Linked DNA regions of Homo sapiens: regions 2, 3 and 4 are each linked to region 1. Evidence: promoter capture Hi-C in 16 types of primary human blood cells and fetal thymus (Javierre and others, 2016). All regions are on one chromosome and are shown on one strand. The core of a region is centred on a gene start or on the middle of the fragment in contact, and the rest is flanking DNA. Distances in the headings are between cores, read along the strand shown.

What was found. Contacts are between HindIII fragments. The CHiCAGO score rates a contact against its expected background, and 5 or more counts as called.
Region 2: the fragment with the promoter of STX1B here is called in contact with a fragment that was not itself captured in region 1 in 5 of 17 cell types (fetal thymus, endothelial precursors, total CD8 T cells and 2 more); the score reaches 5.9 in fetal thymus.
Region 3: a contact is called between the fragment with the promoter of ZNF646 here and a fragment that was not itself captured in region 1, in 3 of 17 cell types (naive CD4 T cells, erythroblasts and non-activated CD4 T cells). The highest score is 5.7, in naive CD4 T cells.
Region 4: the fragment with the promoter of PRSS8 here is called in contact with a fragment that was not itself captured in region 1 in 4 of 17 cell types (fetal thymus, naive CD4 T cells, total CD4 T cells and 1 more); the score reaches 7.4 in fetal thymus.

The regions. Positions count from the first base shown.
Region 1 is chr16:31,854,435-31,862,050 of GRCh38, reverse strand. No RefSeq gene overlaps it. Among named protein-coding and RNA genes, the nearest start is that of ZNF267, 16 kb to the left of the region's middle. RefSeq lists a silencer at 2,478-2,567. The HindIII fragment of the contact is 526 bases long and covers 4,503-5,028 here.
Region 2 is chr16:31,008,079-31,015,694 of GRCh38, reverse strand. It overlaps STX1B (syntaxin 1B), which reads left to right and starts at 5,057. Exons shown (of 10, transcript NM_052874.5): 1 at 5,057-5,328. The coding sequence starts at 5,299. RefSeq lists an enhancer at 4,520-5,021. The HindIII fragment of the contact is 27,284 bases long and covers 1-7,616 here.
Region 3 is chr16:31,069,627-31,077,242 of GRCh38, reverse strand. It overlaps ZNF646 (zinc finger protein 646), which reads right to left and starts at 2,821. Exons shown (of 3, transcript NM_014699.4): 1 at 2,612-2,821; 2 at 1-997. The coding sequence starts at 918. It overlaps ZNF668 (zinc finger protein 668), which reads left to right and starts at 3,003. Exons shown (of 3, transcript NM_024706.5): 1 at 3,003-3,584. RefSeq lists enhancers at 2,055-2,587, 2,943-3,082, 2,588-3,121, 3,741-4,035, 3,327-4,127 and a silencer at 3,393-3,852. The HindIII fragment of the contact is 1,677 bases long and covers 1,178-2,854 here.
Region 4 is chr16:31,131,977-31,139,592 of GRCh38, reverse strand. PRSS8 (serine protease 8) reads left to right here and starts at 3,866. Exons shown (of 6, transcript NM_002773.5): 1 at 3,866-4,179; 2 at 4,422-4,439; 3 at 6,205-6,367; 4 at 6,640-6,911; 5 at 6,998-7,164; 6 at 7,258-7,616. The coding sequence starts at 4,095. The coding sequence ends at 7,584. PRSS36 (serine protease 36) reads left to right here. Exons shown (of 15, transcript NM_173502.5): 15 at 177-667. The coding sequence ends at 455. RefSeq lists enhancers at 1-423, 424-1,117, 4,805-5,751, 6,700-7,616. The HindIII fragment of the contact is 17,481 bases long and covers 1-7,616 here.

The DNA.
Region 1 (7,616 bases), core at 3,516-6,015:
CTTTCTCAAGGGCCTGGGAGCCATCTCTCTAAAATGGAATCATTAAGGGAGCAAGTTCCCATGAGAGGGTAGGAGCCCAGCTTCCGCCAGTGCCTGGCTCTAACTTACTAACCTACTCCTGCCATAAACTATGAGACACTGGTCTTTTCTTGTCATAAATGTGATTAGTGAACACAGTGGGTACCCTTGAGGGACATGTAAAAACAGTGCTGTCAAGTCCCTTCCCTGAGGACTGGTTACTGTTTATCTCGGGAACACGCATGCACTGGTTGTAGCTGCCTGGCTATGCACAAGGGTGAGATTTCCTTCTTTCTTGCAATGTGCTAGGTTATTATCTGTTTTGTGCATCACAATGCCGTTTAATGATTCTTCAATGAAACTGTTTTCTTTCTCTTCTATCTTTCCGGAGAGATTTCCTGAGTTGGCAAGAGACTTTGTTGTTAATCATATTCCCCACCACAGGTAGTGACATCACTATGCTAGAGGGGAGCTGAAGACCTGAGTGGCAGCATCTCTCCCTGCTGCCTCAGCCAAGGCCCCAGTGCCCAGGAAGGGATGCCACCACCTGGAGTAGAGCCTCAGATGGGAACTAATATCAGTAACTTGATATTTCTGCTTGGATAATGGGCAAATTAGAGATAGCTCAGTTTAATCCATTCACAACCAAGCATTTCAGTTCTGGGGAAGACAGACTAGACATACATGTCTCTATTCTTCCCAATAAGTACAACTAAAATCCCTGGACATTATACATGAAACCAAATGGAGAAAGCTCTAAAAGGTGGAAGAAAGCAAGCATACTGTTCGTGAACCGAAGAAAGATGTGATAACAGAGTGGGGTGAAACACGGGTTTCTTTGCCCATATACTGTAGTCTTGGAGCTAAAGAAACTGGCAACTCAGATACACCAATAGGCAAAGGCAAAAAAATAAAACCAGAAAACTTTTATCCAGTGACTGCCCTACTACAGCCAAAACCACTGAAAAACCATGGCTGCCTGCCCACGTATGCCACCAAAAGCCAAATGAGAGGCTAGAGTTTCACCTATGCCAGGATGAAATGCAGACAGCACCATAGGCTTTCTTTCCCTTTTGTGTTTTATAAATTGTATTTGATGCTTTAAGGAAAAATGGTAAGATTTTCAACTATGATAATTTCTGTATATAACGTAATATCTTGATCACACACTAAAAATGCTATACTCAAAAATACTATAAATAAAACAGCCACTGCTCTCTGGACTCCTGGAATATATTTATGGGACTTTAGGCACCTCGCTGGAGTCCTGTGCTCAGAACACAGCCTGATGAGCCACAATGTCATATTTTAAGTATATATTGCATGCCTCATAGTGTATTTGCTGAGTTATGCAATTATAATCTCAGTCGAATTTATTTTTGTTCATCTCTAAAAAGACTTTGTGCTATTTGTAGTCACTCTTCATTTTCTTCCAGCCCTAGACACCATTAGTTTATATTCTGTCTCTAGAGATTTGCCTTTTCTGGACATGTCTTATGATTGGAATTCTACAGTATAAGGTCTCCGGCTTCTGCTTTCTTCTTAGCTTTTTGAAAAGTTTACTCCTCTTGTACCATGTGTCATTACGTGCCTCAGTTTTGATTGCTGAATATATTTCATTGTAAAAACATATATATGTATGGTTTTTATTTTACTTTAAGTTCTGGGATACATGTGCAGAGTGTGCAGGTTTGTTACATAGGCATACATGTGCCATGGTGGTTGGCTGCACCTATCCACCCGTCATCTAGGTTTTAAGCCCTGCATGCATTATGTATTTTGTAGGGTCCAGCCCTACAGGACCTGTGAGTTTTCTCTTTGTGTGTGGAGACAAGAGATCACAGAAATAAAGATATGAGACAAAGAAATAGAAGAAAAGACAGCTGGGCCCGGGGGAGCACTATCACCAAGACGCAGAGACCAGTAGTGGCCCCGAATGCCTGGCCGCGCTGCTATTTATTGTATACAAGGAAAGGGGGCAGGGTTAGAAGTGTGAGTCATCCCCTATGATAGGTAAGGTCATGCGAGTCATGTGTTCACCAGACAGGGGGCCCTTCCCTATTTGGTAGCCAAGGTGGAGAGAGAGAGGGGACAGCTTATGTCATTATTTCTTCTATGCATTTCTTGGAAAGACTTTAATATTTTCACTAATTCTGCTACTGCTATCTAAAAGGCAGAGCCGTGTGTACAGAGCGGAACATGAAAGTGGACCAGGAGCGTGACCGCTAAAGCACAGCATCACAGGGAGATGTTTAGGCCTTCGTATGGCTGCGGGAGGGCCTGACTGCTGTCAGGCCTTCCACAAGAGGTGGTATAGCAGAGTGTTCTCTAAATCCCCCAGGGAAAGGGAGACTCCCTTTCCCGGTCTGCTAAGTAAAGTTTGCCTGCCTTCCCAGGCACTGGCGCTACCGCTAGACCAAGGTCTGCTAAGTAACAGGTGCTTTCTCAGGTACTGGCGTTACCGCTAGACCAAGGAGCCCTCTAGTGGCCCTGTGCAGGCGTGACAGAGGGCTCACACTCGCCTTCTGGTCACTTCTTCTCATCATGTCCCTTCAGCTCCTGACTCTGTATGGACTGGTTTTTCTAAGTTATAATTGTAGGACAGAAGTTATTAATAAAAGAGTAATGCTACAAACTAATGATTAATAATATTCATATATAATCATGTCTATATTCTATTTCTAATATAACTATTCTTATTCTAATTATTTTCTTTATTATACTGGAACAACTTGTGCCTTCGGTCTCCTGCCTTGGCACCTGGGTGGCTTGCCTCCCACAGTATTTATTCTAACGCTTTCCCTATTCTTGCCCCCAACCCCCTGACAGGCCCTGGTGTGTGATGTTCCCCTCCCTGTGTCCATGAGTTCTCATTGCTCAATTCCCACTTATGAGTGAGAACATACGGTGTTTGGTTTTCTGTTCCTGTGTTAGTTTGCTGAGGATGATGGTTTCCAGCTTCATCTATGTCCCTGCAAAGGACATGAACTCATTCTTTTTTACGGCTATGTAGTGTTCCATGGTGTATTGTTTTTCCTTATTCTCACTGGTTGATATTTCGGTTGTTTACCCATTCAGCTATCATGAATAGTGCTGCAGGGAGCCTTTGTGTACACATAGGTTTTCCTATCTTTTAGTTATATAACTGATAGTGTCACATGAATAATTTGCAAATATTTTCTCCCATTCAACAAATTGTCTCATCACTGTTGATTGCTTCCTTTGCTGTGCAGAAGCTCTGTAGTTCAATATGGTCCCATTTTCTAGTATTTGTTTGTTGCTTGTGATTTTGTGGTCTTAGCCATAAAATATCTGGCTAGATCAATGTTCAGGAGGGTTTCTCTTATGTTTTATTCTAGTAGTGTTATAGTTATGGGTTTGTGTTTCAATCTTTTATTTTGAGATGATATATATATCATATATCATATATATTTTTTGAGTTGAGATATATATATATAAATATATATATTTGAAGCTAGACTTCTATCAGTATATATATATACTGATATATATATATATATATATATATATACTGATAGAAGTCTAGCTTCAAATGAATTGAATAGCTTATGCATATAGCTATCCAGTTTTTTCAATACCATTTATTGAAGAGGGTATCCTTCTCCCAACGTATGTTCTTAGTGCCATTGTTGAAAGTCAGTTACTTGTAAATATGTGGTTTTTTTCTGAATTCTCTATTCTGCTCTATTGGTCTCTGTGTCTATTTTTATACCAACACTATGCTTTTGGGGTTGCTCTGACCTTGTATGATATTTTGAAGTCAGGTGGTACAATGTCTTCAGCTTTGTTCTTTTGCTCAGGATTGCTTTGACTCCAGGCTCTTTGTTGGTTCCATACACATTTTAGACTTCTTTTGTGTGTGAAAAAGTTGGCATTTTGATAGTGATTGCATTGAATCTGTAGACTGCTTTGGTCATTTTAACAATATTAATTCTTCTGATCTATGGGCTAAACCACTAGCTAGACAAAAAAATTATGGGCATGGAATCTATGGGCATGCAATGTCCTTTCATTTTTTTATGTACTCTTCAGTATCTTACATCAGTGTTTTTTAGTTCTCCTTGTAGAAGTCTTTCACCACCACAGCTAAATTTATTACTAGGTATTTTAATATTTTGTAGCTATTGTAAATGAGATGGCTTCCTTGACTTCTGTTTCAGCCACTTACTTATTATGTAGAAATGCTCCTGATTTCTGTATGTTGATTTTGTGTCCTGCAACTTTGCTGATCATATTTATCAAATCTAATAGTTTTTTGGTGGCATCTTTATGTTCTTCTAAATATAAGATCATGTCATTTGCACAAAGCAACAATTAAACTTTCACTTTTCCTATTTAGATGCCTTTTATTTCTTTCTCTTGCCTGATTACTTCGGCTAGGACTTCCAGTACTTTGTTGAATAGAAATAGTGAAAATGAACATCGTTGTTTAGTTCTAGTCCCTAGCAGAAAAGATTTAAGCTTTTCCTTATTTAGTATAATGTTACCTGTGGATTTGTCATATATGGCCTTTATTAAGTTGAGGTATGTTCCTGTAGGCCTAGTTTGTTGAGCGTTTCTATCATGAAAAGATGTTAAATTTTGTCAAATGCTCTTTCTGCATCTATTGAGATGATTGTATGGTTTTTGTATTTCATTCTGTTAATGTGATGTATTGTGTTTATGGGTTTGTGTGTGGAAATCCATCCTTCCATCCCTGGGATAAATCCTACTTGATTGTGGCATGTTATCTTTTTGATGTGCTGTTGCATTCAGTTTGCTAGTATTTTGTTGAAGATTTTAACATCTTTATTCATCATATTAAACTGTAGCTTTCTGTTTTCATTGTATCCTTGTATTGTTTTCATATCAGGGTAATGCTTGCTTCATAGAATGAGTTACAAAGAATTCCCCCCCCTTCTATTTTTTGAATACTTTGAGAAAAATTGATATTAGTTCTTCTTTATAAGTTTGGTAGAATTCAGCTGTCAAGTTATCAAGCCCCAAGCTTTTATTTGCAGAGAGACATTTTATTACTGTATCAATCTCATTTCTCATTATTGGTTTGTTTGGGTCTTCTATTTCTCCCTGATTCAATAGTGATAGTTTGTATGTGTCCAGGAATTTAGATATTTTCTCTAATTTTTCCAGTTTGTTATCATGCAATTGTTCTTAGGAGTCTCTGATTATCTTTCATACTTCTTTCTGCAGTATCAGTTGAAATGTCTGCTTTTTCATTTCTGACATTGTTTATTTGGGTCTTTTCTCTATTTTTTGTCTAGCTAGTGGTTTATGAATGTTGTTTCATGTTTTCAAAAAAAGTTTTATTTCATTGGCCCTTTGTATTTTTTTAAGTTTCTAGTTTGCTTACTTCTCCGATTTTTATTATTTCTTTGTTTGTTTGTTTGTTTTGTTTTGTTTTAAGACGGAGTCTTACTCTGTTGCCCAGGTTGGACTGCAGTGGTGCCATCTCGGCTCACTGCAGCCTCTGCCTCCTGGGTTCAAGCAATTCTCCTGCCTCAGCCCCCTGAGTAGTTGGGATTACAGGTGTACTCCACCACACCTGGCTAATTTTTGTATTTTTTAGTAGAGAAGAGGTTTCACCACGTTGGCCAGGCTGGTCTCAAACTCGTGACCTCAGGTGATCCAGCTGTCTCAGTCTCCCAAAGTGCTGGACTACAGGCATGAGCCACTGCACCTTGACTGATTTTTATTATTCCTTATGCTTATGTTGAGCTTAGTTTGTTCTTGCTTTTTTGGTTTCTTGAGGTGTATCATTAGGTTGTTTACTGTAAATATTTCTACTTTTTTGATGTAGGTATTTACTGCTGTAAACTTCCCTCAACACTGCTTTTGCTGCATTTCATAGTTTCCAAAATATTGTGTTTTCATCTTCATTTTTTAAATATTTGTTTGGATTTCTGTATTAACCCAATGGTTGTTCTGGAGCATGTCATTTAATTTTCATGTATTTGTACAGTTTTCAAAGTTCCTTTTGCTACTGATTTTTGGCTTTATTTCACTGTAGTATGAGAAAATACTTGATATGATTTCAATTTTTAAACATTTGTTAAGACTCGTTTTCTGGCCTAACAGAGGGTCTATCCTGAAGACTGTTCCATGTGCTTCTGAGAAGAATGTATGTTTTGCAGTCATTGGATCAAGTGTTCTGCAGATGTCTGTTAGGTTCCTTTGGTCTAAAGCAACGGTGCCTAACCTTTTTGGCACCAGGAACTGGTTTCGTGGAAGACAATTTTTCCTAGGACTAGGGGAGGGGGATGATTTCAGGATAATTTAAGTGCATTACATTTATCATTAGATTCTCATAAGGAGCATACAGCCTGGATCACTGGCATGTGCAGTTCACAATAGGGTTTGAGCTCCTATGACAATCTAATGCTGCTGCTGATCTGACAGGAGGTAGAGCTCAGCTTCACTGGCTCACCTGCCACTCACCTCCTGCTGAGCTTCCTGGTTCCTAACAAGCCAGGGGTGGGTATTGGTCTGTGACCCGACGGTTGGGGACCCCTGGTCTAAAGTACAGTTTAAATCTGATGTTTCATTATTGATTTTCTGTCTAGGTAATCTTCCAGGGCTTGTCTAGTGGTGATGAATTTCTTCAGTTTTTGCTTGTCTGGGAACGTCTTTATTTCTCCTTCATTATGAGGTATAACCTTGCTTAGGCTGTGTTTGCTAGTTGAGGCTGTGGTGAGGTTTTGGTAGGAATGGAACACCAGATAGGCCAGTCCTTCAGCCCCCATGGTGACAGTGGCAGCAGTAAAGGGTTGAGGGTGTCTGTCCTTGGGCTGCTGGGTAGTGTATGTGGGCACTGGTGTTAGTGTGCCTAAGCCTGTTGATTCTCAGGCCTTCAGGAGGCTTGCTCTGATGTCTGTAGTAACAGCAGTGGGCTAGGAAATGGGGCAAGTCCTCAGGCCTCTGAGCAGTGTGTACCGTGTGGATGAGGAGAGTAGTGGGGTTGAGGCAACTTCAGGCTTCCAGGCAGCACTCACAGTGTTTGTGGTGGCTGCAATGGGCTGAATCAGACAGTCCCTAGAGCCTTAGGTGACACATGAGTGTGGATGCTGGTGGTTGTCTGGGTGGGCCCATCCTTAGGACCCCAAGAGTACCCAGATGACAGCAGTGGTGGATGGCATGGGAGATTCCTAGACCTTTAGACAGCATGCTTGAGTGCTGGCTGCACATTTTCTTGGCCTGTTTTTAGGACCCTGGTGGACTCATGCCAGAGGCTACCACCTGTACAATGCTGTCCTCAGGTCCACAAGTGGAATATTTGACCACTAAGGGTGGGAGAGAGGCAGGTGAGGTGGGCCTGTTCTCAAGTCCTCCTAGTGATGCACATGAGCATAGGCTGTGGGCAGGGCAGGGGAAGTCCCAGACCTCTGGAGCTCATGCTAGGGCACCAGTGATGGCAGGCCTTCTGGAGCTGTTATTAGGCCCCTGGGAGATGGGTGCACCAAAATCTCAGAAATCGCCACTAAAGAATTTATTCATGTGCAAATAAATAAATAAATAAATAAATTCACTTACACTGTCTTATAATTATGTAATTAGTTTTGCTAGTGTGTGCTTTGTCTTTC
Region 2 (7,616 bases), core at 3,808-6,307, 850 kb after region 1:
CTGTCGCCCAGTCTGGAGTGCAGTGGCATGATCTCGGCTCACTGCAACCTCCACCTCCCGGATTCAAGCGATTCTCTTGCCTCAGCACCCCCGAGTAGCTGGAATTACAGACGTGAGCCACCATGCCCATCTAATTTTTGTATTTTTAGTAGAGACGGTTTCGCCATGTTGGCCAGGCTGGTCTTGAACTCCTGACCTCAGGTGATCCACCCATCCTGGCTTCCTAAAGTGCTGGGATTACAGGCATGAGCCACCGTGCTCAGCCCCCAACTCTCGTCTCGTGTTTAGCATTTGGGCAGTGAGCAGCTGAGCCTGGATTTGGCTATGCTTTCCCTCTAGCGTCAGGAGGGCCAAGAAAGACACCGTAGTTGAACTTTGATAGAAGAGCAGGAGGTGGGCTTGGGGATGTTAGAGGGAAGGGAGTTCCAGGGGACAAGAATGACACGAGGAAAGGCATGGAGATATAAAAATGCAGGGAATAACGGGATAGGAGTAGAAGGTGCGTGGGAATAGGTGGCATGCCCTAAAGTGGAAAGCCAGGTTAGGAAATTGGGGCTTTACCCCATAAGCAATGGGAAACCAGGGAAATTTTCTGATCAGGGGCTGGCCTGGTTATATCAATGCTTTAAAAATTTGGCCAGGCACAGTGGCTCACACCTGTAATCCCAGCACTTTTGGGAGGCCAAGGCAGGTGGATTGCTTGAGGTCAGGAGTTCAAGACCAGCGTGGGCAACATGGTGAAACCCTGTCTCTACAAAAAATACAAAAAAATTAGATGGGTGAGATGGCACATGCCTGTGGTCCCAGCTACTTGGGAGGCTGAAGTGGGAGGATCGCTTGAACCTGGGAGGTGGAGGTTGCAGTGAGTGGAGATTGTGCCACTGCACTCCAGCCTGGGTGACAGAGCAAGGCGCCATCTCAAAAAAAAAAAAAAAAAAAAAAGGGTGGGGGGCACTGGGTAGGAGACTGCATAGGAAGTTCCTTCATGATTCAGATGACTCACTTTGGGTAGCCCATAAGTGGTCATGAATGTAATGAGCTTGAAATCACTGATCAGTGAGAGGAATTGCCATATGTGTGTGCCTGTGTCCATCTTTAGAGCTGCAGACAGATTTGAGTGGTGCGCCATTCACTCATTCATTCCTATAACACATAATTACTGAGCGCCTACCATGTGCCAGGTGCCGTGGAGCCACTGGAGAACCAGCAGTGAACACACAACAGACAAAACTCCCTGCCTTCACAGTTTGCTTTGTTCTTTATGCCTGGGTAAAACGGGTGCAGGAATATGCCATTTATTCATTCTGATTTTTTTGTTTGTTTGTTTTTGAGACAGAGTCTTGCTCTGTCTCCCAGGCTGGAGTGCAGTGGCACGATCTTGGCTCACTCCAACCTCCGCCTCCCAGGTTCAACCATACTTGTTGCCTCAGCCCCCAGAGTAGCTGGGATTACAGGCACATGCTACCACACCTGGCTAATTTTTATATTTTTATTTTTTATTTTTATGTATTTATTTATGTATTTTTGAGATGGAGTTTCGCTCTTATTGCCCAGGCTGGAGTGTAATGGCATGATCTCGGCTTACTGCAACCTCCGCCTCCCAGGTTCAAGCAATTCTCCTGCCTCAGCCTCCCTAGTGCCTGGGATTACAGGCATGTGCCACTACGCCTGGCTAATTTCATATATTTAGTAGAGACAGGGTTTCTCCACGTTGGTCAGGCTGGTCTCGAACTCCCCACCTCAGGTGATCCACCTGCCTCAGCCTCCCAAAGTGCTAGGATTACAGGCATGAGCCACTGCGCCCGGCAGGTCACATTTGTTTTGGGGGCAATCACATTAAGGACTGGGGAGGAAGACATATGTAAAGGAAAGGGGCTTTGTTCAAGTGGGAAGACCAGAGAGAGAAGGCTGTGCTGACGGCCCAGGTGAAAGACAGTGAGGGCCTAGACTGACCTGAGGTGGTGGGGACAGGAGAGGGCCTAGAGACGGCTCTGGGTGTCACAGTTGAGAGAGGAGCTATAAGAGCATGCTTTTACAAGAATGGGTTGTGAGCCAGGTGCAGTGGTGTGCCCCTGTAGTCCCAGCCACTCAGGAGGATGAGGTAGGAAGACTGAGCCCAGGAGTTTGAGTCCAGGCTGGGCAACAGAGTAAGACCCCATCTCTTAAAAAAGAAGAAGAAGAAGAAGGAGAAGGAGAAGGAAAAAAGAAAGAAGAAAGAGAAGGAAGAAGAAGAAGAGGAAGAGGAAGAAGAGGAAGAGGAAGAAGAGGAAGAGGAAGAAGAGGAAGAGGAAGAAGAAGAAGAAAAGAAGAAGAAGAAGAAGAAGAAGAAGAAGAAGAAGAAAGAAGAGGAAGAGGAAGAGGAAGAGGAAGAGGAAGAAGAAGAAGAAGAAGAAGAAGAAGAAGAAGAAGAAGAAGAAGAAGAAGAAGAAGAAGAAAGAAGAAAAGAAGAATGGGCTTTGCAATCAAAAGATACAAACAAGGTCAGACACAGTGGCTTATGCCTATAATACCAGCACTTGGGAAGCCGAGGTGAGAGCCCAGGAGGCTAGGACCAATCTCGTCTCTGCAAAAAAAAGAAAAAAAGAAAGTTAAATTAGGGCCAGGCACAGTGGCTCACACCTGCAGTCCCAGCACTTTGGGAAGCCAAGGCGGGTGGATCATTTGAGGTCAGGAGTTCCAGACCAGCCTGGCCAACATGGCGAAACCCTGTCTCTACTAAAAATATAAAAATTAGCCAGGCATGGTGGCAGGCACCTGTAATCACAGCTACTTGGGAGGTTGAGGCAGGAGAATCACTTGAACCCAGGAGGCGGAGATTGCAGTGAGCCAAGATCGCGCCATTGCACTCCAGCCTGGGTGACAGAGCGAGACTCTCTCTCAAAAAAAGAAAGAAAGAAAGAAAGAAAATTAGCTGGACACAGTGGTGTACACCTGTAGTCCCAGCTACTCAGGAGGCTGAGATGGGAGGATTGCTTGAGCCCAGGAGGTCAAGGCTGCTGTGAGGTGTGATTGCACCACTGCACTCCAGCCTGGGGAACAGAGTGAGACCCTGTCTCTGGAAAAAAAAAAAAAAAAGCAAACAAGACCCCAGCCCTGCCCTTTATTAACCTTGTGAACTTGGATATGTTATGTGACCATGCAAAGCCTCAGTGTCCTTGTCTATACACTTGGGATCTTAGCAGTGGCTACTGTGAGGTTGGGAGGTTTCTGGGAGCTACCAGCATAGTGAATGCAACACGTTGGATGCCCAGAACGTGCTGGCATTATAATGGCGGGGAGGCAAGGACAGCTTTCTGTGCTTTGAGTGGCTGGGTGGATGGAGATGACGCCATCTCTGAGGGAGAACACAGGAAGGAACACTTTGGGGACAGCCACCTCCTTGAGGTCCCCACGTCAGCGCTAGCCATGCCCACTGTAGTCATGGATCTACTCATGGCTCTGGTGGCATCTTCAATCTCTGTCTTCTTGGTGCCCAGCTCAGAGCTTAGGCATATAGTAGGGGCTGTCTTACAGGGGGAGGATCTGGCTCGCAGGTACAGATGTGGGCACTGCAGACACGGAGGTGCAGAAAGATGCAGGTAAAGAAGGAAGAGAATGCCAGGCATGGTGGCCCAGGCCTGTAATCTCAGCACTTTGGGAGGCTGAGGCAGGAGGATCGCTTGACCCTAGGAGTTCAAAACCAGCCTGGACAACATAGTGAGACCCTGTCTCTACAAAAAATAAAATTAGCCAGGTGTGGTGGCGCGTGCCTGTAGTCCCAGCTACTCAGGAGGCTGAGGTGGGAGGATCACTTGAGCCTGGGACGTTGAGGCTGCAGTGAGCCGAGATTGCACCACTGTACTCTAGCCTGGGCAACAGAATGAGACCCTAACTCAAAAAAAAAAAAAAAGAGAGAATGGACGGAGCCCAGGGAACCCTGAGGTTGAAGGGCTGTGGGAAAAAAGGTAAGGACCTGGAAAGAGGCTGGGAGACAACACTCACAGATCAGGTTGGGGGGTAGGTGGGCGGAGCACCACAGACAGGAGGGTTTCAGGAAGAGGGGCTCATCAGGGTCACATGCTGCTGAGAGGTCAGGGATGGTAAGGCCCGACTGGCGGTGTGGGATGAGGGTTTATCAGACACAGATTTGGCACCAAGGAGGTCACTGGGTACCTGGCAAGAGAATGCCGGGTGCGGTGGCCCAGGCATGGAATCCCAGCACTTTGGGAGGCTGAGGCAGGAGGATCGATTGAGAGTCAAGACCTGTCCCATTGGGGACCGGCGCCCCATTGCAGGGGGTGGGAGGAGCTGGTGTGGTGTAAGGATGGGGAGAGGAGAGGTGGGCATCAGAACAGGAGGTCACTCAGACCCTCAGGGGCACCTGATTTCCCCTCCCACTAAGGACAAATTTCATGTTCAACAGTCAGAGCCATCTGCAGATGGGCCAAGAGGTCCTGGGAGGTAGTGAGCACCCTGTCCCTGGAGGCAGACAAGCAGAGCTCCGAGACCCACCGCGGCGGGAGAGGCCCAGGCTGTGCAACACAAGCCCCGTGTCCTTCTCAGCAAGCACCTGGCTGGTTCCCTGCATCGTAAAAACCACACAGAGGGTCGGTCTTTCTATTTATAGTGTCCAAAGAGCCTCCTGCAAGAACACACATGGGCTCGCACCCAGAGGTGGTCGGCGCGCAGCCTCACGCAGACACCAGACACAAAACACAGCCGCGATCTGTGTCTCCTGGAAAGGGATCCACATCCTGGCTCCCAGGTTATTCCCTGAATTCATTCCGTCACCCCCTCTTTCCGCCGGGCCACCCCACCCCCCGGGCCACCCTAGCATCTCCGCTTGGCTCTCCGCATCTCTCCCTGCTCCTCGGGCTCTGCCCACCCCCACCCGCCTCCAGGCCTCTCCCGCCCCCTCCTCGGGTGTCCCCCAAGCCCGTGACTACAACCCCCAGGCGCCCCCGGCCCGGGTGCTGCGCATGCCCCCTGCTCCTTGCGCGCTCCCGCTCCCCCCGCCCTCGCTTCCTCCTCACCTCCCTCCGCCCCCCTCCCCCGCGCTCGGCTCCCGCATCCCTCCATCCTACCCTGTGCCGCAGCCGCATCGCCACCGCAGCCCGGCAGAGCCGAGCCCGGCCCAGGCCCCTGCCCCTGCCCGGCCCTCGGCCAGTCGCCCCCGGCCCCGCCCCCGCCCGCAGGCCCCCCGCAGCGGCCGCGGCGCCCCCCGGCGCCCCCAGACCCCGGCCTCCGGCACAGAGGCGGGAGACCCGGAGCAGCAGCAGAGGCAGGAGGACTAGGAGGAGGAGGAGGAGCCGTCGCAGGATGAAGGATCGGACTCAAGAGCTGCGGAGTGTGAGCTTGGGGGTGGGGAGAATGGGGGGGCGGGACCCCAATATTGGGGGAGCGCGTGGGGATGGAGTGGGGGAGGTGCTGGGACGTGGGGGCGAAGGATGAGATCGGAGGTTGGTAGCCGGAGCACCCCAGTATCTTCAGGCGCCTGATGTCTCTCCAGTGAACCTGCATTTTGGGGACAGTGCCTGGAAGGGGTTGGAGGCCATGAAGACACAAGGGGGCAGGAGAGGTCTCAGGGGCCTCGAACACCCCGCATTCCCAGGAGGGCCCCGGGGTCTGGTCTGGGGATGGGAGAGAGTGGATATCAGGAGAAACCGGAGGAGACTGTCATCCCCTGGGCAGGTTTGCCAAAGAGAAGCATGGGGGCGGTGACTGGGCCAGGCTGAGAGTCTAGCAGGACCCAGATTCAGGGGATGCTACGGGGAAGGACACAGGTTGGGACTGAGATGCCAGCACCTGGCAGTGAATGAAGTGTGTGTGTGTGTGCACACGCGTGTGTCACTCCCTATAGGGAGGGGGCATCTCTCCGAGACAGGGAGGGAAGAGGTGGCCTCCGGAGAGAGCCAGAGGGCCAGGGCCTGAGACAGGGTGACCCAGAGGTGGGAGATGGGGATGCAGAGGAGAGGGCCATGGAACACGGGCCGTGCTCTGCTTGGGGGAACTGGGGCACCCCGGGCAGTCAAGGGCTGATGCAGGCCCCAGGTCTGCAGGCCTGAAGAGGCCCGGCTCCAAGAGTCTGGCCAGGCAGTCCCTGGTTTTGGGGGGACAGGGGAAGGACTGCAGTGGAGGCTGCTACCTGGAGGAACTGGGGAGTGGGGTTCGATGAGAATGGTTTCAGGGGCAGGGAGGACGCTGGGGTATTTGGAGAAATGACCTGGGGCCCGAGGAGGCAGCACTGACAGTCCGCACTGTGCTGGGCTGGTGGTGTTATGTTAATAAGGGTACCGGCCCCGGCTGAGCTGCCCAATGCACTGAGCCTTTACAGGGAACTGGTGGGTTGTTACCCCAGGGGTTATTACCCCACTTGACAGATGAGGAAACTGAGATTCAGGCGTGGGAAGGGACTTGTCCAAGGTCACCAAGCAAGTGGGTGGGGGGCAGACTGCAATCTGGGTTTCCTGTCTGCTAGGTTGACACAGGTCTCTGCTTTTCTGGCCTTTGAAACAGAAGTTTCAGCACTGGGGGTGAAGAGCTGTCCCCTGGATTTGGGGGTGGGGACCCAGGTTACAGACAGACGAGAAGAAGGTGTTTGGAGGCAAGTGACCGCTGTCTCTGGGGACAGACAGGTTGCCAAATGGGAAGCAAGGAGGAGCTGGTGGCTGAGGGAGGGAATTTTAAAGGTTTCTTTATTACATTTTTACTGAATATACACTCAGGCATGAGGAAAGTGACAGTAATAATAAACATTGTTTGAAGTGTTTTATGCATATTCACTCATTTTGATCCTCACAGCAATCCTATGAGACTGGTTATCTCATTTCATAGATATATAAATATCTTTTTAGATATATAGATATATGTTATCTCATTTTATAGATAAGGACACTAAGCTCAGAGAGGTTAAGTAATTAGACCAAAGTCACACAGCTGGTAAAGGCAGGATTCAAACCCAGGCAGGCCGGCTTCAGCATCGGTGCTGTCAATTCCCCTCCTCAGTTTGCAGAGCAGGCTTTCATCCGTGATGTCATTAGAGCCCCACTGACCTCCTGGCAAGTGGACGGGGAGGCTCTTTCATTTTAGAGTTGGGGAAACTGAGGCCCAGAGTGGTTGAATAACTTTCCAAAGGTCACACAGCTAGCAGGTGAGGGATCCGGACTTGAACCCAGTTCCCCTGCTACCAGGACTATTCCATGACTCCAAAACCCAGGGAAATGGAAGTGGGTTGGGATCAGGTGGTGTGGAATTGGGGTACAATTCGAGAAAGAGGGAGGGAAAAGGCTAAGCGGGGTAAGGGGGAGGCAGGGGAGGGGGAGGCCTCATGAATGAGTCAGGGGCCCCTGCTCAGAGGTAAGGAATCCTGTTGGCTGTGGCTGCCGGAGGTGGTGTGGAAGGGTGAAGGGGCTGAGTGGATGTGGTGGCTTTGGTATTAGTCACAGCTCAGGGAAACTGGAGATTCAAGAGGGGGCGGGCGGGGTGGGAAAAGCTGACAGATTCAGGTAGCGTAAGGGTCTCCCTGCTACAGTTGAAAGCAAGGAGCCTGGGATGCAGGAGACACCTGGCAGGGTGTGGGGGACCTGGAAACGGGGTCTCTGAGACACTGGGAGGGATGAGGCAGGGGCGGTGGTGGG
Region 3 (7,616 bases), core at 1,572-4,071, 780 kb after region 1:
GGGGAGCCGGAAGACACGGGGGCAGTGGGGACAGTGGTAAGGCCGATACTGGGCATGCAGTCGAGAGTGGTTCTTCAGAGCCATGAGGTTAGAGAACTCCTTGAAACAGATGGCACAGGGGTAGATGCCCAGCGTGTGGCTCTGGCGGTGGTTGGTGAGGCTCCCGGCGTGCTTGTAGGTCTTGCCACACTGACTACATTTGTACCGCCGCTCCTCCTCAGCAGGAGGGGACTGGGTGGGCTCCTGGCCCCCTGTGAAGTTCACTACTGATTCAGCCAGATACTGTTCCAAGTTGCTAAGAAGGCTGCTGGCTGGGATGGGGAGAGGAGGGGCTCTGGCAGAGTTAGTGGAGGGTCCCCAGCCGTCTGCACCATCCTCAGGACCTGGGTGGCTTGCCAAGCCTTCTCTTTGTCTGGTGGGCAGATCTTCCCACGTACCCGAAGCTGCCCTGGGGTCAGGTACAGATTCACAGTCAGGTGTCTCTTCTGTATGTTTTGTCTGGTTTTCCCAGCCTTCACTAGAGCCAAGCCTTTGGCCCCAGGAGTCAGTGGACACCGTCTCACCCTGGAGGTGTGGAGTGGCTTCCTTGGGGCGTGGGGGCCTGTGCCTGCGGCGGCCCTCAGGAGCATGTGTCCTCATATGGCTCTTGAGAGCCATGGGATTGGAGAAGTCCTTGCCACAGGTGGTACAGGGGAAAAGGCCAGTCTCGTGGGTCCGACGATGGTTAACCAGGCTCCCGGGGTGACGGTAGCCCCGCCCACACTGCTGACAACGGTAGGGCCGAGGGATGCTGTCAGCCTCCTCACTGTCCTGGTTGGGAGATGGATGGAGCAGTTCTCGGTGCCGAGAGAGCTCTGGGAGGCTGGGAAAGTGGCGCTGACAGTCGGAGCAGCTGAGTGAGGGGGGTGTGTCCTCCATGGGGCAACGTAGCAGAAACCTGGAGGTTCAGAAGGAGCAGACACGTGGCAGCACCTTCCTCTGGTGGAGGGGCCAAGGCCTAGGAAGAGGGGGCAGTGGTCAAAAGGAAGGCCTGAATTAACTTCGCCTCTTGGCTCTACGAGCAACAAGTTCACCTGAGGTCACTGAGAGGTTCCCCAAGCATCCATGCCCAAGGACCTAATTTCTACTAGATCCAATCTGCAGGCACCATCATTTAAGGCTTCCCTGTGCACAAGCTTCCCAAATATAGGAGCTCCCCTAGGCTTAAGTCATCCCTACAGGTATAGCTAAGGAAATTAAAGTTGAGAGAGATGCAACCTACTTCTGATCACAGACCTGTTATGTTCTTCAGACCAGACTCAAAAGGCATTACTGTCCTTTAAGAACAGTAGGAATCTGCTCCCTACAATCCTGAAACAAAAATTTTCTGTGACATCTTAAAAGGACACCAAAACCTTCTCTAGGCCTTTCAATAAGAGAAGTCCAAATCTTCCTACTTCATCTCTCAGCTAAACAGAGTAGCTGAGAAGCACTGAAAAAGCAGCTGTTTCCTCCAGTTAATAGCTGAGGACCTGAGAGGAGAGGTTAGAGGCCTCCTTCAGGGAAAGGGCTGGCTTGTTCCCCCACCACCCCGAGTCATTTCAGTGTCACAAGGTCTCTTTTCCTTGTGACAAGAGAGTTAAGAGAGTTAAGACTCTCTTAACTGGGCCAGGTGTGGTGGCTCACGCCTGTAATCCCAGCACTTTGGGAGGCCGAGGCTGGTGGATCACCTGAGTTCAGGAGTTCAAGACCAGCCTGGACAACATGGTGAAACCCTGTCTCTACTAAAAATACAAAAATTAGCCGGGCGTGGTGGTGGGCACCTGTAATTCTAGCTACTCAGGAGGCTGAGGCTGAAGAACTGCTTGAACCTGGGAGGTGGAGGTTGCAGTGAGCTGAGATCCCACCACAGCACTCCAGCCTGGGTGACAGAGCGAGACTCCATCTCAAAAAAACAAAAAACCCCAAAAGACTCTCTTAGCGACTTCTTTTATCTACTTCCCTTGAACTCAAACTATCTTCCATCTTGGGAATAACATCAATACCAGGTTGTAATGTCACTTCATTGCCTACCTTTTCTCTCCCATGCCTCCTGATCTTACCCTCACCAGTCTTTCTCATTTTTTTCTTCTGCCTCCTCTCTTAATACTGATGATGACAGCAACTCATGAAGAGTATTATATTACCATGTGCCAGGCACTGTGCTAACTATATTCATTGTGTTACTCAATCCTCAGAACACACGGCAATGCCTGTTATTCTAGTTCACGTAACAGCAAACCCCCTGACTGAGGCGGTCTTCATCCCAAAGCCCTTGCTCTCTCATGCCCCCTACATCGTCTTGTCCTTCTCCAACTCTGACTCTTCTTCCCATGGGACCCCAGTACAACTGTCTCCGACCGTAAACCCCTTCACTGAACCTGCCCCCGGAATTCTCACCTCACAAAGCCCCTTTGATCAAAAGTCCCCTCCCCTAGTCAACCACCAATGAAGTCCTCTGACCTCACTCATCTCGTCTGCCAATTTCCTCTCAGGACGCCTACCTCGCACCGGCGGCCCCCTCTCCTTCCCGCCGCGGGCGCGTCAGTTGGGGACCGCGAACAAGAGCGCGCCTGCGCACTGGGACCCTTACCCTAACTGCAGCCGCGCGCCCCAAGGGGTGGCTGTCGGGGGGCTCTCGCGCTCCCACACACGCACACTCAGCCAGGGTTCCCGGGAGGTGGGAGGGAAGGGAAAGAGGGAAAGGAGAAGGGGGGAAGAGGAAGGAGGTAGAGAAAAGAGGGCGCAGCTGGCATGAGCCAGGAGTCTACTCCCAGCTCTACGGACACTTCCTATTGTTACTAGGAAACAGGAAGTGTCCTTAGGTGCAAAAGCTTCCCCGCGAAACTTCCGCTTCGGGAGCACTGCCTGTCCCGCCTCCGAGCCGCAGTTTTACGCAGACACACTTCCGGCGCTAAGTTCTAGGTCTGCACGGCTGACTCCGCCCACGTAGGTCACAACGCGGCGTCTTTGCACGCTAAGCTAGCCACACTTCCGGCAAGAGCAGCTAGAATCGTTCCGGTGCATATTGAATAGGCGCAGAAAGGGAGAAAAAGATTCTACAGCCCTGGCCACAGTACTTTGGTGACACTTTTCGTGGGGCTCTCTGGAGGACTTTTCCCAAGGCAGATGGAGAAAACTTCGTGAAACCCACTCCTTGCTATTAAAGGAAATGTTGTGGAATATAATTGGACTTAGGTTTTGCAGAGCTTGAGCATGGCCTTTTTGTCCTCCCACCTTCTGGTTCTTGAAGACATTGCCGGTGACCTGGCCCCAGACTAACACAAGGCGGGCGTATACCGTCAGCCTGCCTGGCGTCCCCTTGCCTCAGCACACACAGAGACCTCTTGCAAGATGCTTCTCTGCCGCCATAGGCTGGAGGTTCCCCGGGAACTTTCCCTTCCTTCCTAGCTGAGGAAGATCCCTCACTTCCGCTCGCCGCGCCACCGGTCCCACCTCCCCGCCCCCCGCTGGGTCCTAGCGCCGGCCCCTGTTTGGCAGGGTCCGGGCTCCGTCGGTGCGAGGAGCCGACGCCGACGCCACGGAGTCAGCACAAGTCTCATCAGGTAGGAAACGTCGGCGGGAAGCCGCGAGGGCCCCGGGCAGCTCCCACGCGGCCACGATCCGAGCTGGCCTCAGTTTCCCTGCGGGCGCCGAGGGCGGGCCGGGTTGGCCCAGCGCGAGCAGCGCGGGCGGGGCGGGCTGTGAGCGGCCCCGGGCGCATTGCGGGCCCAGCAGGTCCTAGAACCCGCCGGCTGTCTCCGCGGTTCTGGGCTGCGGACACCCAGGCTCGGCCCGCGCGGCTGCTGGCCCGGCGCGGTGTGGTCCCGGGGGTCCTAGAGCCCGCCATGTTTTGGGTTTTTGTCCCGGTCGCGTGGCCCGCGCTGCAAGATCCCAGGCGCCGGCGGCCCCCTCCCCTGCTGAGGCCCGGCCACCACTCCCGCGGTCCTAGAGAACGCCATCTTGCAAGCCTTTGTCCCTCATTCGGCCTTCCGTCCATTCATTTGTTCATCTCCTCATCCTTCGTTCAGTCCTCCTTGCCACGTCCTCCGAAGCCACGTTTTCTGAGGCTTATAACCGGGGTCCTGCCCTCCAGGGGCTGCCTGGCTGGCGGGGGCGCCGCGTACAGACGGTTGCGAGGAGCGAGGAGCTCCGGGTTTCTGCAACTCTCGGCTCCTCGGCGCGCTTCGTAGGCCCCACCGCCCTTCAAACTCCCACAAACTTAAGGGACCCCATTTTACTGATGAGGAAACTGAGGTCCAGAGCGGCGTGGGGCCCTTACCTCTCTACTGCCATAAAGTATTCCTGAGGGCACTAGGGAAGGGGGTTCTTGAAGGATGTAAAGGGGCTTTCCCGTTGGAGAAGGCAGGCAAGGGCTCCCCGAGCCCAGGAAACTGCATCTAGAGGTGGAGGATTGAGAATTGTGGCTGGAGGTTCGGTCGCTGCCGGGAGGAGGACTCTGTCGCTGGAGCTGAGGCTGGAAAAGTAGGTTGGGATCAGGTTGTGAACTGGCCCGGTAGGAGGCCTAGGATATGATTAGCGCTCACTTCTGCAGGGTTCATCCGCTCACTACGTCACTCCTGGCCGTGAGGCCTGTGTGGTGACTGCTTGTTTAGAGATGGGAAGATTGAGGTGCCTCCTTTTTCTCCTCATCCCTGCCCCAGGGTCCTAGCCTAGGATTTTTGGAAATTGAATCTTTGCTTGCCTAGTGAGACAGCAGAACTTCATCCCCTTCCTAAGCCAGTAGTGAGGCAAAGCAAGGCTTCATCGCCACGACAGGGAGCCCACTGTGGGATATTGGGGCAATAGTTGAGCCTTGTGGAGTTGGAAAGGTGGAGGAATTTAGTTAATAAACAGTTATTGGTGGACATTCTCACAAACTCCTACTGTGGAGGAGGCAGAGGCTACAGACCTGGGTTCAAATTTCATCTGAGGTTGGTTCTTTCCATTTGTTTTGGGTCACCACACAGGGTTCTGGGTGTAGAGGAGGCAGATGATCGGTTTCCTAGCCCTTTGCCAGCCTGGACTCTGGTGCTGGTGATGAAGAATTAACAGCCAAACCATAAGATGTGTAATGCTAGCAAAGCAATAGTCAGGGCTCAGAGAGCAGGTGTTTGGGATTTGAACACTGGCTGGGACCGTGACTAGTAAGCTTGTTTCTTTGTGGTGTCACTTCTCATAAGAACGCTAATCCTACTGGACCAGGGCCATACCCTTATGACGTCATTCAGCCTTAATTACTTCCATAAAGGCCTTGTCTCCAAATACAGTCACAATGAGAGTTAGAATTTCAATATATGAATGGACAGGGAACACAAACATTCACTCATAATGAACTGCTAGGCAGCTGTGCAGTTGGCTTGAGTAGTTGAGTATTATGCACAAAATGCTTAGAATGATACCTTGCCCATGGTAAGCTTGCAAGGAGTATTGTCCAGATGACACCATAAAGGAAATTAGAGAGGAGGGGTGCTGGTCACTGTGGCTCATGCCTGTAATCACAGCACTTTAGGAAGCCATAGTGGAGGAGCATCTGAAGCCAGGAGTTCTTGAGACCACTGTCGGCAGCGTAGTGAGACCTCCATCTCTATATACAAAGAATTTTTAATAAATTAGCGAGGTGTGGTGGTGGGTGCCTATAGTCCTAGCTACTCAGGAGGATTGCTTGAGTGCAGGAGTTTGAGGCTGAAGTGAGCTATGATTGAGCCACTGCACTCCAGGGTGACAGAGTGAGACCCAATCTCTAAATAAAAATAAAGGCCAGGCACGGTGGCTCACGCCTGTAATCCCAGCACTTTGGGAGGCTGAGGCGGTCGGATCACTTGAGGTCAGGAGTTCGAGACCAGCGTGGCCAATGTGGTGAAACCCTGTCTCTACTAAAAATACAAAAGTTTGCCAGGTGTGATGGCTTTCGCCTGTAGTCCCAGCTACTCGGGAGGCTGAGGCTGGAGAATCACTTGAATCCGGGAGGTGGAGGCTGCAGTGAGCTGAGATGCAGCCACTGCACTCCAGCCTGGGCAACAAAGACTTTCTCTCAAAGAAAATAAATAAATAAAAATGAAATAAATAGGCCGGGCATGGTGGCTCAAGCCTGTAATCCCAGCACTTTGGGAGGCCAAGGTGGGTGGATCACCTGAGGTCAGGAGTTCCAGACCAGCCTAGCCAACATGGCCATCTCTACTAAAAATACAAAAAATTAGCTGGCTGTGGTGGCAGGCACCTGTAATCCCAAATACTTGGGAGGCTGAGGCAGAAGAATTGCTTGAACCCAGGAGGCAGAGGTCGCAGTGAACTGACATCACACCATTGCACTCCAGCCTGGGCAACAGAGGGAGACTCTGTCTCAAATAATAATAACAATAAATAATAAAATAAATAAAAATAAGCCAGGCACGGTGGCTCATGCCTGTAATCCCAGCACTCTGGGAAGCCGAGGCAGTGGATCATCTGAGGTCAGGAGTTCGAGACCAGCCTGGCCAACATGGTGAAACTCCATCTCTACTAAAAATACAAAAAATTAACCAGGCGTGGTGGTGGATGCCTGTAATTCCAGCTACTCGGGAGGCTGAGGCAGGAAAATCTCGTGAACCGGGGAGGCGGAGGTTGGAGTGAGCAGAGATGGTGCCATTGCACTCCAGCCTTGGCAACAAGAGTGAAACTCTGTCTCAAAAATAAATATATAAATAAAAATAAAAACATTTTTTAAAAAGTAAAGAGGGCTGGGTGCGGTGGCTCATGCCTGTAATCCAAGCACTTTGGGAAGCCAAGGTGGGTGGATCACTTGAGGTCAGGAGTTCAAGACCAGCCTGGCCAACATGGTGAAATCCTCTCTCTACTAAAAATACAAAAATGAGCCAGATGTAGTGGCGGGCGCCTATAATTCCAGCTACTCGGGAAGCTGAGGCAGGAGAACCGCTTGAACCCGGGAGGCGGAGGTTGCAGTGAGCAGATATTGTGCCATTGCACTCCAGCCTGGGGGACAGAGTAAGACTCCGTCTCAAAAAAAGGGCCGGGCGCGGTGGCTCACACCTGTAATCCCAGCACTCTGGGAGGCCGAGGCGGGCGGATCACGAGGTCAATAGATCGAGACCATCCTGGCCAACATGGTGAAACCCCATCTCTACTAAAAATACAAAAATTAGCCGGGATTGGGCCGGGTGCAGTGGCTCACGCCTGTAATCCCAGCACTCTGGGAGGCCGAGGCAGGTGGATCACGAGGTCAGGAGATTGAGACCATCCTGGCTAACACAGTGAGACCCTGTCTCTACTAAAAATACAAAAAATTAGCCGGGCGTGGTGGCGGGCACCTGTAGTCCCAGCTACTCAGGAGGCTAAGGCAGGAGAATGGCATGAACCCGGGAGGCGGAGCTTGCAGTGAGCCAGGATTGTGCCACTGCACTCCAGCCTGGGTGACGGAGTGAGACTCCGTCTCAAAAAAAAAAAAAAAAAAAAAATAGCCGGGCGTGGTGGCGGGCACCTGTAGTCCCAGCTACTTAGGAGGCTGAGGCAGGAGAACTGCTTGATAGATAATCATGAGATTCCGTCAAAAAATAATAATAATAATAAAGAGTAGATAGAGAATGATTATCAGGGGTAAA
Region 4 (7,616 bases), core at 2,617-5,116, 720 kb after region 1:
TGGAATTATTGGGTATTTGGCCCCAAATGGGACCCTAGCTGGACCCGGGAGAGAAACCAGGGACCTGGATGTCTAGGGATGCAGACCAGAGTGCTTCGTGGCCAGACCCTGGGGAAAGGGGGAGGGGACCAAGAGGAAGGGCAGCAGACCCACGTGGCCTCGCTCCAACTCTGCAGATGACCTCAGCACCGCCCCTCCTGTGCCAGATGACGGAAGGGTCCTGGATCCTCGTGGGCATGGCTGTTCAAGGGAGCCGGGAGCTGTTTGCTGCCATTGGTCCTGAAGAGGCCTGGATCTCCCAGACAGTGGGAGAGGCCAACTTCCTGCCCCCCAGTGGCTCCCCACACTGGCCCACTGGAGGCAGCAATCTCTGCCCCCCAGAACTGGCCAAGGCCTCGGGATCCCCGCATGCAGTCTACTTCCTGCTCCTGCTGACTCTCCTGATCCAGAGCTGAGGGGCTAGGGTCCCAGCACCACTTCCCCCTTCTCCACCCTCTACTTCCCGCCCAGTGGGGCTGGAATGTGGCCCAGCCGGCTGGAACCTCAAGGGCCCCACCCACCGAGATTGCAGCGGCTCTGGCTAATTGGGCCTCAGTGCCCGGGCTATTTTGAACCCAGGAATCCTTGGGGGTGGTGGGAGGAGCGGACAATAAAGGTGTAAACACAGGTACCTGTGTGGCCTTGTGGCATCGCCGTGGGCAGGCTGAGGGGCTGGGCATCAGAGGCTAAGCGGGAAGCCCAAGGGGGAGGTCCCCTCCCTCCTCCCTCCTCCGGCCTCTGAGTCAGGCCTTGGGCTCTCAGGAAATGTACCCTGATAACCTGGCAGCGATTCCTTCATTCCTGTCCCAGGGCAGGGAAGTCGGGTGGCCAGCTGGCTGTGTGTCACCTGCCCAGTGGAGTCAGCACCCTCGGCACGTGCTGGACATCTCATCCCCTGCTCAGACCCGCTGCCCTCGCTGCCCGCCATAGACACACCTCAATGCACAATGCTCCGATGTATCCCCTGCACACACACAACACTTGGGCCCTTCAAGGGTCTGCCACTTTCACATTCTGCCCAGAACTTGGGTCCCTTATATGTGAACCTCACTCCCTTACCCACTGCTTACCTGCACCTCCCTGCATTCATTCAACCCGTGTTCCCTGGTGGCTACTAAGTCGTGGCACAATTGGGGTCTGATATATAAGCCCACAAAGTCCTCCCAATCTAGTGGGGACACATGTGGACATCCCTGGCTGGGATTGGGAAGATGTCATAGCAGTGATGTTTGAGCACAGAAAAAGGGAAGGTGGTTTCCAGCCAATGAATCTACAATTAAAAAGTAACGCAAAACCAGAGACGAGGTGCGGCAGCTCATGCCTGTAATCCCAGCACTTTGGGAGGATCGCTTGAGGCCAGGCATTCCAGACCAGCCCGGGCAACAAAGCAAGACCCCCATCTCCACTTTTTTTTTTTTGAGACAGAGTCTCATACTGATGCTCAGGCTGGAGTGCAGTGGTGCAATCTCGGCTCACTGCAACCTCCACCTCCTGGGTTCAAGCGATCCTCCTGCCTCAGACTCAAGTAACTAGGATTGCAGACTCAAGACACCATGCCGGACTAATTTTTGTATTTTTATTTAACTTATTTATTTTTAATTTTTTGAGACAGAGTTTTGCTATTGTCGCCCACACTGGAGTTCAATGGCGCAATCTCGGCTCACTACAACCTTCACCTCCCAGGTTCAAGCAATTCTCCTGCCTCAGCCTCCTGAGAAGCTGGGATTACAGGTGCCCACCACCATGCCCAACTAATTTTTGTATTTTTAGTAGAGGTGGGGTGTCTCTATGTTGGCCAGGCTGGTCTTGAACTCCTGACCTCAGATGATCCGCCCACCTCAGCCTCCCAAAGTGCTGGGATTTACAGGCGTGAGCCACTGCATCTGGCCTATTTATTTTATTTATTTATTTATTTTGAGATGGAGTCTCCCTCTGTTGCCCAGGCTGGAGTGCAGTGGCACAATCTTGGCTTCCCAGGTTCAAGCAATTCTCCTGCCTCAGCCTCCCGAGTAGCTAAGATTACAGGTATGCGCCACCACGCCTGGCTAATTTTCTTTGTATTTTTTAGGAGAGACGGGGTTTTACCATGTTGGCCAAGCTGGTCTCAAACTCCTGATCTTGAGAATGATCCTCCCACCTTGGCCTCACAAAGTGCTGGGATTATAGGTGTGAGCCACCACATCCAAGCTCCACAATTTTTTTTGTTTGTTTGTTTTTTGAGACGGAGTCTCGCTCTGTCGCTCAGGCTGGAGTGCAATGGCGCAATATCTCGGCTCACTGCAACCTCCACCTCCTGGGTTCAAGCGATTCTCCTGCCTCAGCCTCCTGAGTAGCTGGAATTACAGGTGCGTGCTACCACGCCTGGCTAATTTTTGTATTTTTAGTAGAAATGGGGTTTCACCATGTTGTTCAGGATGGTCTCAAACTCCTGACCTCGTGATTCGTGTGCCTTGGCCTCCCAAAGTGCCGAGATTAGAGGCGTGAGCCACCACACCCAGCCTCAACAGGTGTTTTGAACGGCCAGAGTGGCCCTCAAGGAGGATACATGCCTCACTCCCACCGCAGCCACACGGCAAGCCTTCTTTCCCTGAGCCTCTGCCCTCTGCACCCCATCCCCCCATCTTCGCCTTACCACCTTTTATAATCCCTTTCGGTCTCAGTTTCCAAGGCAATTCCTCGAGGACCCTTTCACAATGCCAGCCTTTGCCAGGCTGTGGTGTGCTCACGCCATTCTTTTTCATCACTATTCCTAGCTTGAAATTATTGTGTAATTGCAATTTTTTTTTTTAAGACAGGGTCTCCCTCTGTTGCCCAGGCTGGAGTGCAGTGGCGTGATCATAGCTCAATGCTTCGTTGAACTCCTGGGCTCAAGCAATCCTCCTGCCTCAGCCTCCCAAATAGCTGGAACCATAGGCATGCGCCACAATGCCTGCCTAATTTTTATATTTCTTTGTAGAGATGAGGCCTCGCTATATTCCCCAGGCTGGTCTGGAACTCCTGGCTTCAAGTGATGCTCCAGCCTCAGCCTCCCAAAGCCGACTAGCCACCTTGCCAGCCTGTTTGTGATTATTTGATTGAAGTGTGTCACCCCTACTTCACCATGAGCTCAGGGCTCAAGGGGGACGGGGCTGGTGCCTGTTTTGTCCTGGACACCTGGGAACATCATAGGCACTTAGGAAATGTCTGTGGGATGATTGGTGCTGCTCCACAAGCTCGCCACCACCCATGAGGTGCAGGCATCGCAGAAAGGGCCTGGCAGGGGACAGACCATAGTGTCTTAAGCTCCCATAACCAGCCTAAGGAGGGAGGGAAGAAGGGAGGAGTGGCTGTGGCTCCAGATAATAAAAGCTGGGGCCAGGCCCTGGGGGGCATAACTGGCCTGAGATAACCTGAAAGACCTGAGGCGGAGGAGAGTCGTCACATTCCAGGGAGACTGCACACACACACAAACCACATGCACGTGCATGCACGCACACTCAGACACACACACTACACACACAGGGACACACACAGCCTACACATGTGCACATACAGCCTGTACATGCACACACACACACATACCACACCACATAAGAGGACACACACAGCCTACACAGGCATACACACACACCACATACACACTACACACCGGGACACACACACAAAAGGCCTATGCATGTGCACACACATACACACGGACACATACATGCACACACACGGGCCTGCAGCTCTGAAAGGACTCATGACTTTGGTGGCAAGAGGAGCTGGCGGAGCCCAGCCAGTGGGCGGGGCCAGGGGAGGGGCGGGCAGGTAGGTGCAGCCACTCCTGGGAGGACCCTGCGTGGCCAGACGGTGCTGGTGACTCGTCCACACTGCTCGCTTCGGATACTCCAGGCGTCTCCCGTTGCGGCCGCTCCCTGCCTTAGAGGCCAGCCTTGGACACTTGCTGCCCCTTTCCAGCCCGGATTCTGGGATCCTTCCCTCTGAGCCAACATCTGGGTCCTGCCTTCGACACCACCCCAAGGCTTCCTACCTTGCGTGCCTGGAGTCTGCCCCAGGGGCCCTTGTCCTGGGCCATGGCCCAGAAGGGGGTCCTGGGGCCTGGGCAGCTGGGGGCTGTGGCCATTCTGCTCTATCTTGGATTACTCCGGTCGGGGACAGGTAAGTGAGGACGTGGGGGCAGGGTGGGGACAATGCACTGGAGGGAGCCGGCGTGATCATTTTCTGGGGTGTGCCCTTGTCTGGGGCCCAAGAAAACCCCCGGCCTCCCTAGCTCTTGGCCTCTCTTTCCCACCTTGGCTCTGTCAGGGAAGGGGCCAGCCCTCTGGAGCAGTGGTGGGTACTAAGGGGTCAGGGAACCCGAGTCTTCCCTACTCACCCCTCCTCTTTCTCTTTCTTTCTAGGAGCGGAAGGGGCAGAAGGTGAGACTTTCCTCGGAGAGGGAGGAGGGGAGGGGGAGGTGACTTGGATCGGATTCCCCTGGGGTTTAACCAGTGCCTGGCCTTCAGCTGGGCTGCCTTCCAACTAGATTCTCTTAGGGCTCCCAGAGTGGGGGGTTTTAGCCCTCACCTTATGGGCAGAGAAGCAGGGACTTGCCCAGGGCACACTGCCAGTGAAGGTGCAGCTGGGATTCAGATCCACGTCTGACTCCCAAAGTGGGGCAATCGAGGTGGTTTTTTTGGTTTGGTTTTTGTCTTTTGAAACAGGGTCTGGGTCTGTCGTCACCCAGGCTGGAGTGCAGTGGCCCGATCGCAGCTCACTGCAGTCTCAGTGATCCAGCCTCCCGGGCTCACGTGATCCTCCCACCTCCCCACCTCAGCCTCCCTAGTGGCTGGGACTACAGGTGCATGCCATCACACCCAGCTAGTTGTGTTTTGTTTTTGTTTTTGTTTTTGTTTGGTAGAGATGTGGGTCTCACTATGTTGGCCGGGCAGGTCTTGAACTCCTGGGCTCAAGCGATCCTCCTGCCTTGGCCTCTCAAAGTGCTGGGATTACAGGTGTGAGCCACCGTTCCCATCCTGGAGGTGGTTTTGAGGGAACCAAACCAAGGGTCTCCTTTCTTGGAAGGCACCCAACCCAGCTCTGAGTCAGACCGGCTTTCAATCCTGGCTTCCCCATGCACTGGCTGTGTGTCATTGGCCAAGTCCCCCCACTTCTCTAAGCCTTAGACTCCTCACCTCTAAAATGAAGCTGGTCATGTCCGTCTCCTGGGGCTGTGGAGAGGATGCAGGGAGATGAGGAAGCGAAAGCCCCTCCAGGGCCTGGCACAGCCGCTAGGCTCTCTAAATAGTGGCTATTGTCATGATGATAAGGGAGAGAAAGATCTGGTCTGCAATTTTCTCTGCTCCTAGATGACTTTGTGAAGAGCAGTTGGGCTCCACTCCAAAGTGGCCTCAATGGGGGTGGGGCTGGGGCTGTCCTGGAAACTAGACATTCACATCACAGGAGCCCAGTTCTGCTGTTGGTTTGTTGAATATATGTCCACGACGCCACAGGCACTGCAGACATGAGAATCTGCCCCTAGGGAATGCCCAGATTGGTGTGGTGGAAACAGACACAGTTGTGGACTCCGGAACAATTGTGAGACTGGGCAGCATCGGGGAGCATGGTGGAGGTTGGGGGGTGCTGGGCTCGGAGGCAATGCCCAACTCAGCCAGCAGAAGCCCGCCTGTCTACGGAGGGGCTGCTGTTCCAATCAAGCATCCACAGGCAAAGGGAAGTTTGCCAGACAGTAAGGATGGGGAAGGGCATACCAGGTAGAGTGACCTGGATCAGCCAAGGTCCCGGGTAAACAAGTGTGTGGCCTGATGTACACAACTGAAGGGTCCAGAGGGGACGGCTGGGTCCGATGGCGGTGCCATGGTCTGTCTGGAATGTATCTTAAGGACCGCGTGGAGCCAAGAAGGGTTTAAGCAGGGCTGTGGCCTGGTCAGATTGGGGGTTTATGAAAATCTTCAGACTTGTAAGGGGCGGGATGGATGGAAGGCTTGCAAGGAGAGAAGCTGCCATGAGACCTGAATTAGGTAATGGGTAGTGGACAGAAGGGGCACAACTGCCCATGCCTGGGAGGGGACAAAGGGGTGTTGACTCCTGTGAACCCACTTCCCAAGCTCTATATCAGAGCTCCTGGGCTGCATAGGAGTGGCCAGGCTAACAACCTGACCCCTTCCCTTCCTCCCTGGGCAGCTCCCTGCGGTGTGGCCCCCCAAGCACGCATCACAGGTGGCAGCAGTGCAGTCGCCGGTCAGTGGCCCTGGCAGGTCAGCATCACCTATGAAGGCGTCCATGTGTGTGGTGGCTCTCTCGTGTCTGAGCAGTGGGTGCTGTCAGCTGCTCACTGCTTCCCCAGGTACCAAATGGTGAAAGTCAAAAGTGGGCTGGAGGTCAAAGTTAATGGGTCAATCCAGGTCAGAGGTTGGGGTTCTTGGGTTGGGTCTGAGAGTGTCAGTTCTAAGTCTGGAAGGACCAGTTAGGAGTGAAGGTGAGGGGTCAGAGGTTACATGATAAAACTAAGGTGCAATTTGAGACCTAAAAGGGGCTGATCGGAATCAGGGGTTGGCAGTGGGGGTTGGGGAACAAGGAGAGGTCTCCTGGGTCTCAGCCTTTGCCCCCTGCCTGCAGCGAGCACCACAAGGAAGCCTATGAGGTCAAGCTGGGGGCCCACCAGCTAGACTCCTACTCCGAGGACGCCAAGGTCAGCACCCTGAAGGACATCATCCCCCACCCCAGCTACCTCCAGGAGGGCTCCCAGGGCGACATTGCACTCCTCCAACTCAGCAGACCCATCACCTTCTCCCGCTACATCCGGCCCATCTGCCTCCCTGCAGCCAACGCCTCCTTCCCCAACGGCCTCCACTGCACTGTCACTGGCTGGGGTCATGTGGCCCCCTCAGGTGAGGTGGGACGCTGGGTGCCTAGAGGTGTGGAGGGGCACCTGACTTGGGGAGGGGCCCAGGGTAAGCCTCTTTTACCCCCACAGTGAGCCTCCTGACGCCCAAGCCACTGCAGCAACTCGAGGTGCCTCTGATCAGTCGTGAGACGTGTAACTGCCTGTACAACATCGACGCCAAGCCTGAGGAGCCGCACTTTGTCCAAGAGGACATGGTGTGTGCTGGCTATGTGGAGGGGGGCAAGGACGCCTGCCAGGTAAGCACAGGCCCGGGGGGCAGATGACCAGTGCAACTTCGGAAAGGAGGCCTGGCCCGGTCCTGATGGCTGCTGTGTGGCTTCTCTCCTCAGGGTGACTCTGGGGGCCCACTCTCCTGCCCTGTGGAGGGTCTCTGGTACCTGACGGGCATTGTGAGCTGGGGAGATGCCTGTGGGGCCCGCAACAGGCCTGGTGTGTACACTCTGGCCTCCAGCTATGCCTCCTGGATCCAAAGCAAGGTGACAGAACTCCAGCCTCGTGTGGTGCCCCAAACCCAGGAGTCCCAGCCCGACAGCAACCTCTGTGGCAGCCACCTGGCCTTCAGCTCTGCCCCAGCCCAGGGCTTGCTGAGGCCCATCCTTTTCCTGCCTCTGGGCCTGGCTCTGGGCCTCCTCTCCCCATGGCTCAGCGAGCACTGAGCTGGCCCTACTTCCAGGATGGATGCATCACA